2 separate regions of the Homo sapiens genome follow, and region 2 is linked to region 1. The links are contacts of gene promoters, found by promoter capture Hi-C in human tissues and cell types (Jung and others, 2019). All regions are on one chromosome and are shown on one strand. Each heading gives the region's core, a stretch centred on a gene start or on the middle of the fragment in contact. The rest is flanking DNA. Distances are from core to core; before and after follow the strand shown. Region 1 holds the start of IL22RA2 (interleukin 22 receptor subunit alpha 2). Region 2 has its middle 9.6 kb from the start of OLIG3.

Region 1 (4,002 bases), core at 914-3,413:
TGTATCCTTAAGAAGCAGATAATTCCTAGGTCACTCAGATTAATTTATCCAACTGACGAGCTGACTGCAACATTGCATGATTTTGCAAAGGTCATTGTTGCCCATGAGTGTCTGAGCTCGTGAGTATCTGACCATAGTAACCTCACAGTCCACAGAATCTCAGCCCCTTCCCCTCAGGACTCCTACTTCAGACCATAAAAAGCAGAAAAGCACCTTCCCGTTCCTTTAGCTTAATTCTTGTAAATTCATGGCAGTTGCTAAAATCACATTCCTTTTTTTTGATTCACTAGACATGTGATAAGGGCTTACTGTGTCCCCAGCCTTGTCCTAAGTGCTAGAGTTAAAGCAGTGAACAAAACACATAACATCCCTGACCTCGTGGAGCTTATATCCTAGTTGGGGAGATAGACAACAAGAATAAAATGAAACATAGCCTGCCAAATGATGATAAATGTTTTGGAAAACAAACAGATAAAGGTGCCAGGGACAGCTGTTGGGGACTGCTATTTTGGGTGTCATAGAATTCACTGATAAGATAATATTTGAGCAGAGACATGAAGGAGGTGAGGGAGTGAGCCTGGACATCTCAGGAAGAGCATTGGAGCAGAGGGAACCTTGCTAATGTAGGGATGTGCCTGATATGTTTGAGAAACAGCAAAAAGACCACCCAGGAGGGAGCACCATGGGTTGGGAGGAGAGCAGTAGGAAATAAATTTAGAGGTAACAGGACCTGGTTATATAGGGCTTAGTAAGGGACTGGAAAAATGTTGACTTTCAATCTGAGTGAGATGGGAAGGCATCACAGGGTTCTGAATAAAATGTTCTATTCTGACATTTAATAGGAACACTCCACCTGATGCAGAGAACAGTGACAGAGGCAGGCAGACCAGTAAGGAGGCTGTGGCCACAGTCCACACAAGAGATGATGATAGCAGGTTACCAAATGGGTACAGTGGAGGAGGTGAAAACCAGTTGGATTCTGGTTATGCCATGAAGATATTTTCAGGATCAAACAATACATACAAACATACTGGTGCATGGGCATAATGATTGATGATATCTGGTAGGGGTTTCAAGGTGACCTTGGGTGAAGAATAATCAAAGCTACATATTGGGTACAATGTACATTACTCGGGTAAGAGATGCAATAATATCTCAGACTTCACCACTGTGCAATCCATCCAGGTAACCAAAAACCACTTGCACTATTGCACAGCTACTGAAATAAAAAAAATACATATTTTTTAAATGTTACCACTCCTTTATGTTTTGGTTTTCAGAAATAAATTTTAAAAAATTTTTTAAAGAATAATCAAAGCAAAATCAATAGCATCTTTTATCCAGAAAAATAAGAGTGAAGAGCAGGAAAGGTTAACCTCATTAAGCCCTATGTCCTATGAGTGGAGATTTTAAATAATATATTAGTGATCACAGTCCAAAAACTCAGATTAGTCATTGTGCTTATCACCTGTGTTTGAATAACAATGTTTCTTTTTCTTTTCTGAATTCAAGTTCACAAACCATTTTGAATTTTTGCATGCCAATTATTTCCAGAATGCCGAACTGCTTAAAGGACATGAATATTACTCGGTGGAGCTATTAATGTCCCAGCAAATAAGAAAGAACAAGTTGTTTCCCTGTTGTTGGCTCTACAGCTCTATAGTTTTCCAGAGAGGGAGAAGGGTGGTGTTCAGATTATCATTCATGATGAAACTTTTAAAAGATGCTCAGCTGCCCACCAAATCATAGGATGAAGGAAAGGGCCTAGCAGAAACACAGTTGCTCTGACTTCCCTTCAATGGACAGCACCAAAGTCATACTGAACACCAGTTTTTAAACACTTCTCTGAAAAACAATAAGAAACACTTAGCCCTTTGCTACCAAGACCTGGTTGAAGAAAATGCTGTTGGTTCCCTGAGGGCTGGCTCTGTAGTCTTGTTCATTTCTGCATCCCCGATGTCTAACACAGTGCCTGGCATATAACAGTTGCTCAATAAACATTTGTTTGACTGAATAAACGATTCGAGAAGCCAATGGACAAATGTTCTTTGACATCATTCTATCCCTTTATGGAATGTCTATTACAAGCAAAGAATAACACAAGAGGAGTTTCATAATACTCCTCAGGCCCTGAGGCTAACCAGATCTGATTTCAGCCCTCACTTTACCACTACTCGCTATAGAGCCCTGGTCAAGTTCTCTCCACCTCTCTATCTATGTCTCAGTTTCTTCATCTGTAACATCAAATGAATAATAATACCAATCTCCTAGACTTCATAAGAGGATTAACAAAGACAAAATATGGGAAAAACATAACATGGCGTCCCATAATTATTAGATCTTATTATTGACACTAAAATGGCATTAAAATTACCAAAAGGAAGACAGCATCTGGTAAGTAAACTTTATTTATTTATTTATTTATTTTTTTGAGATGGACTCTCGCTTTATCGCTGCCCAGACTGGAGCGCAGTGGCGCGATCTCGGCTCACTGCAAACCTCACCTCCTTGACTCAAGCAATTCTCCTGCCTCAGCCCCACTGAGTAGCTGGGATTACAGGCACACACCGTCACGCCTGGCTAATTTTTGTATTTTTAGTACAGACGGGGTTGCACCATGTTGGCCAGGCTGGTCTGGAACTCCACACCTCAAATGATCCACCCACCTCCGCCTTCCAAAGTGCTGAGATTACAGGTGTGAGCCACCGTGTCTGGCCACATCTTGTAGATAAACTTTAAAAATCTTTTTTCTTTGTTATGAACAATTTTAAGTACATACAAAAGTAGAGTATAATAAACCTGACACCCAATTTCAACAGTTATCAGCTCATGGATGGTAACCCCCTTTCCCAGGCCTTTGTATTATTTTGAAGCAAATCCCAGACATGACACCATTTCATCTGTAGTACTATAATAGGTAGCTCTAAAAAAAAATAAAAATAATAACCAAAATTCCACATCACACCTAAAAACAATGAAAAATGATTCCTTAATTAGATAAATGGTTGGTCTGCTGGAAGCCACAAGAAGAAAGGAAGAAGAGAATCAAATCTGTTCAAGACAGGGGCTTAAGCAAGTTCTCTCCAGAGTCAACACGATGATGGAAATACCCGTTGTCACCGTCAAGGTGGACTCTCCCTGCTGCGGAGTGGGGCCGAGGTCGGGGGAGGGCAGGGAATGAAGCCAGCATTTCATGCCTGAAAGGAGGCAGAGCGGAGATCCCCTAGTGACTAAAACTTTCTTACTTCCCAAACAAAACAGCATTTCATTTGAAACAATTCTGTACAAATTCTTCTGCTTCCAGATTGATGGGAAATTAGAATTTAATTTTATCTTTTCATCTACCTTGAGGCCTTGTTGACAGTGTTGGCTTTTATGCAGGTTCTATTACACAACTAGAGCTAATTGAACAGTGACAGAACTGGTCTGGTTTGTGAAATTTAATAGAGCACCAAAGCTCACGTTTTGGGGAGAATTCAGTTCTTAAATATGTTTTGCTTATCCCACTCCGCCTAATTTCCCCTCATTTGTTTGACAAAGTCAGCAACCCAGTGGAAACCTCAATTTCGTTCTCTGCTGCTCTCATCATAAAACCTCGAATTTAAATATTTTCCTTTTATTCTTAGCTGGAACTTGGAGCAATTTGGTGGCTTCAAAATGAGATCTATTGGTATTGAAGCCATTGAACATCAATAGTGCAAACCCACATTATCATCCCCCATTTAAATACCAAAGTAAATGTGAAGTGGTAAACATTAGCAGGGAAGTGAATAACAATGCTGAGAAGGTTGCAAGCTAAGGAGCATGAAGAGGTGAAAAGGGAACATAAAACGTGCTGCATGTTTCTTCTTTCAAAGCAGAAGCTACCTTATAAGCACCAAAAACTTCAGCTGGAGGAGATACAAGCCTGGATTCAGAAGACTGCCGTAGAACAGAGGCACTGGGAAACCTGATGTTATCCACACAAACCTTTCCACATAGGGCTGGCCTCAGAAAGCATGC
Region 2 (4,262 bases), core at 357-2,856, 310 kb before region 1:
TTACTGTCATTATCCTCCTTGTCTCTGTAGTTCCCCCAGCTACAGAAATTTGCCTCTGGACTCCAGAGTACACCAGGCTGTGGTTCTGAACATAAAACAATCCTGTAATTTCCTTCAAGAACAAAAGTTTTCAAAGAAATGACCTGCACAGTATCCCCTTCAATAAAGCAGAAGTGACTTAATGGTCTGTTAATTACTCCATCCCTGCAGGGGGAGGGAAGCTTCCGAATGGATCGCTACAAACCCTCTGTTGACTGAAGCTGTGGTCTGTCCCCAAATGTACAGCTGGGGCCGGGCCATTGAAAACCCAGACAAAACAAAATCCCTGATAAATAATCCCACCTAGAACACAAAGATTCAGCACTCAATTGTTGGATCTGCGCTGGATCCTCAGAGAAGACCGGAGGGAGCTCCTTTGGGGCTTCCGGTAATCTTTAAAGCTTGAGGCCAGGGGTTCTTGGACAAAAGTTAAAAAAAGAGCTTGTTTGACTTCTCTGTCCCCTTATCCTTCTGTGTTGAATTTCTTTCTCTTTAATTTGGGGCTTTGACTATATTTTATTTATCCAATCTTCTTTTGTATTAATTAGTTTGTTCCATCACGTAATAAATTTTTGGTTTGGTTATTTCTCCAGTTGTTTCTCTATTAATAATTTAAATCTAAGAAGACAGGATTTGAGTGTCATAAGAAAGACAAAGAAGAGAATAAAAATATAGGAGGCAGGTTTGGGTTGTTAGTCTCTGTGTCTTTTCACACCTGTAAGGTGAAAACTGCATGATGTAATTAAATATATTTCTAAAATAGAACAGTTAATCAGATATACTGGAGCCCAAGCAAACTAGCAGTCATTCAGTTAACTTTGCATCAGAGATGGTTAATTGGAAAAATTGAATTTTCAAAGCATCTCTTTAAGAAAAAAATATAAACATGTCCTACACTAATTAAAAAGATAATAGTTTCAATTTGGTATCAGTTTGGTCATTGTGGGTCCATTTAAATAAAACATTGCAGAAAGGTGAAATCTAGCATCTATAGAGATGAGTATTATGAAGGTGATCAAGATGTGGATATTAACTGTTTTAGAAATTAGTTGTTTGCTTGAACTAGGCAATGGCAGGAAGAGTCTATGGAGCCACACAGTTTGCCAAGTCCACTATTACTTCTTAAGGAAGTGATGCTGAAGGGTCAGGCACTGGTTAAAGCCATCCTTTGCCTTTCGTGCCACAGTTGACTGGACCAGATAGTGGTATACGAGCTAGTCAATATAAGGTAAACACATGAGGGAGGCCGGCTCATAGGCAATTGGCATTAAATGGTGCTTCATGTAGAACGGTGGCACTTTTCTCACTGGGAAAATATAAAAATCTAGTGAATCAAAAGGGACTCACCATTTAAACTAAGTTTGACCATAGTCAATGCTGGACTCTTGTTCTGGTTTTCTGTATAGCTAACTGTTCATTCCAGTCATGCGAAAAATGGGATCCAGACAGATGGACAGACATTGTGACCTGTGTAACGCAAAGAGTTGCCCCTTTTGATACTAAAGGCAAATCTATGCAATGATGTTCTCAAAATCTGACTTCCCTACAGTGCTGTAGAGACACAAACATGAAAAATTAGAAGCCATTCCCTCTTGCTAAATAGTCCATGGGGAAATAGAAGAAAGGGAAGCAATTTGTTTCCCATTTTTACTAAATTATATTATTAATAAGTCAGAGTGAATTAAGTACAGTTTTAGAAATTCTACTGTCTGACCAGGTAGAGGTGGGTTAGTTTCTTCCTCTCTCCTTTGCAGAGACTAATGTGCAACGTCTCTTCCCAAAGAGCATTTTGATATAGACATTTTTTTTTTTCATTTTTTACCCTTAGGTACTTGGTTCTCCAGCATTTTCTTCATCCTGTGGAGTGTTTGCCAGGCTCTTAATTGAAACATGTGATCTCTTCAGGGCCAGAGAGTATATTAACTTGACTAGTAACTTTTCTTTTTTTTTTTTTTTCAATTTTTATTTTAGTTTCGGGTGGTACGTGTGCACCTTTGTCGCATGGGTGAATTGCGTGTTGCTGAGGTTTGGTGTACGAATGATCTTGTCACCCAGGTAGCGAGCATAGTACTCAAAAGGTAGCTTTTCAGCCCTCGCCCCACTCCCACCCTCCCCTCACTGGTAGTCCCCAGTGTTTGATGTTCCCATCTTTATTTGACTAGTAACTTTTCATCATTATTGCTATCAGCAGGTTTTTAAGTAGAAAATACTAAGAAACATTTAGTGTATTTTTCACAGTAAATACTAGATCTCAACACAAGAAATTACATTAAAAATGGAGAGACCTAATATTTTTTAGAAATAATTTTATTTAAACCTCAGCCAGGTTTCATACTAATTTGGCCCTGAAGTGGCTGATGCTGACAGTGCTGGAATACCTGGAGGAAGGGGTAGAAGAGATCAGCAGGACAGTGCTAAATTTTCTAAATTTTGGTTCCTATGAACTCTCACTGCAGAGAACCTAGACTTCATCTGAGGGAACATTGAGAGGTGAGATGTTTTTCTTATAATTATTTACTTGACCATTATAGATTCTTTTCTTTTTCTAGAATTAACTTCCTTTGAAATTTTATATAAAGGTTGCTCATCTAAAATACATACCATTATGGTATGCAAGGATGTTCTACTTTGTTGACTCTAGAATATTCAATGAAACATTCCATGTTTCCCTATACTTTAGGCTTGAAAGAAAGAGGTCAGAAGTAAGCAATGGCAAGGCAGAATCTGCAGGGCAGGGATGAAAAGGATTAAGTGGGGCAGGTAAGGCAAGGAACGTGGTGGCCACTTTTTAAAAATGGAAAACATTTCTGGTGGTAACTTGGCATCAAGAATTACTCTTATTGGTTTATTCTTCACTTATATAGGCTTTAGGTCATTACAATAGTACTTAGAAAAAGGACCATGCCTACGTACTTCCAAGAGATAAAAGATTTATGGGAGATTCCCTTTTTCTCCTTGTTCTTCCTCCTCAGTTTTCCTTTCTTCCTCTATTCCTCTATCTTGCTTCTCAATTATCTAGTCATCTTTTTGCTATCTTCTCTACCTCTCTGCTTCCAGCCTTTATTTTCATTCCATGTGATCACGCCCCTCTATTTGCCCACTTCCACTGGCTACTTCATTGCTTTAGGGAAACATAGGGTTTACATTCTCCTGGCCTTCTTGCAAAGTCCTTGCACACACAATCTGCCTGCTCTTCCAACTAGTTTTGGTTTCTAGGAAGCCCCCAACCCTCTTTTCATATCTTCATTTCCAGCCTGTATTGTTACAAAAAAATGAGCTATGCAGAAGTGTGTTCCAGAACCAAAGCCATTCAGAGGTGCTTTAGCTTTCAAAAGCAGCATTGTCATAAGAGTGCTTTCCTAGGTGATAGGGGTATTATGGTAGAGGCTATTTATGCTTTACCAGCTTGTGTCGACTTAAGGAATGTATTTATATAGATAATCACAGCAAACACAAAGTGCTTAGTATGTGCCAGTCATGGTTTTAAACCCTTGACACATATTAGCTCATTTAATTCTCACTGCAAGCCTGTGAAGTTGGTATCATTATTCTCATTTTTTCAGATAAAGAAACTGAGGCACAGAAAGTTAAGTAACTTCCCCAGGCCACACATTTGGTATGACTTAGACCAGTGGTTATCATGTTCTCTGGCCCAACAGCATCAACATCATCTGAGACCTTGTTAGAAATACAGATTCTGAGATTTTACCTTACTTGCAGGTTCAAAAGACGACTGCTGTGGTTTCACAGATGCTGGCAGAAGACATGAGACTCCTGGGTCAGAAACAAAGGACTTGATTTCTCATGGCACAGAAAGTATCATGAGCTTCATGTTTACACTCCTCTTGCTCCTTAATTCCCAGGAAGGCAGTACAGAGGGAGATGCTGCACATGCAGTGGATTGAGTTGCATCTGAGAAAGCTTGAGCTTAGAAAACCCCAAGCTTTTATAATGGGCTTCCAACAAATCTGCCCAACATTTGCTTTGGAATGAGACATTATCTTTAGTATCCCATGTAGCAAACAAACATGCCTTCTACCCCAGAGGGAGACACTGTCTCCATCTTCTAAGGCTATTTCCTATACAAGCACCTATGAGTAGACAGTCCAGAATGAAATTTGTCAGTGTCTCTGATCACAATATTCACAGAAATGCAAGAGACCTTTGGAGGGTTGTCTCCTGACAGAGGGCTGAGATAAGTGCGTTCATCTCAGTGTTTGGCA

Evidence for each region. Contacts are between HindIII fragments. The study calls those that stand out against the background at their distance.
Region 2: a contact is called between a fragment that was not itself captured here and the fragment with the promoter of IL22RA2 in region 1, in 2 of the 25 tissues and cell types used here (H1 embryonic stem cells and neural progenitor cells).

What each region holds. Positions count from the first base shown.
Region 1 is chr6:137,171,805-137,175,806 of GRCh38, reverse strand. IL22RA2 (interleukin 22 receptor subunit alpha 2) reads left to right here and starts at 2,163. Exons shown (of 7, transcript NM_052962.3): 1 at 2,163-2,394. RefSeq lists enhancers at 3,189-3,408, 3,305-4,002. The HindIII fragment of the contact is 17,145 bases long and covers 1-4,002 here.
Region 2 is chr6:137,482,651-137,486,912 of GRCh38, reverse strand. No RefSeq gene overlaps it. Among named protein-coding and RNA genes, the nearest start is that of OLIG3, 9.6 kb to the left of the region's middle. The HindIII fragment of the contact is 6,598 bases long and covers 1-4,262 here.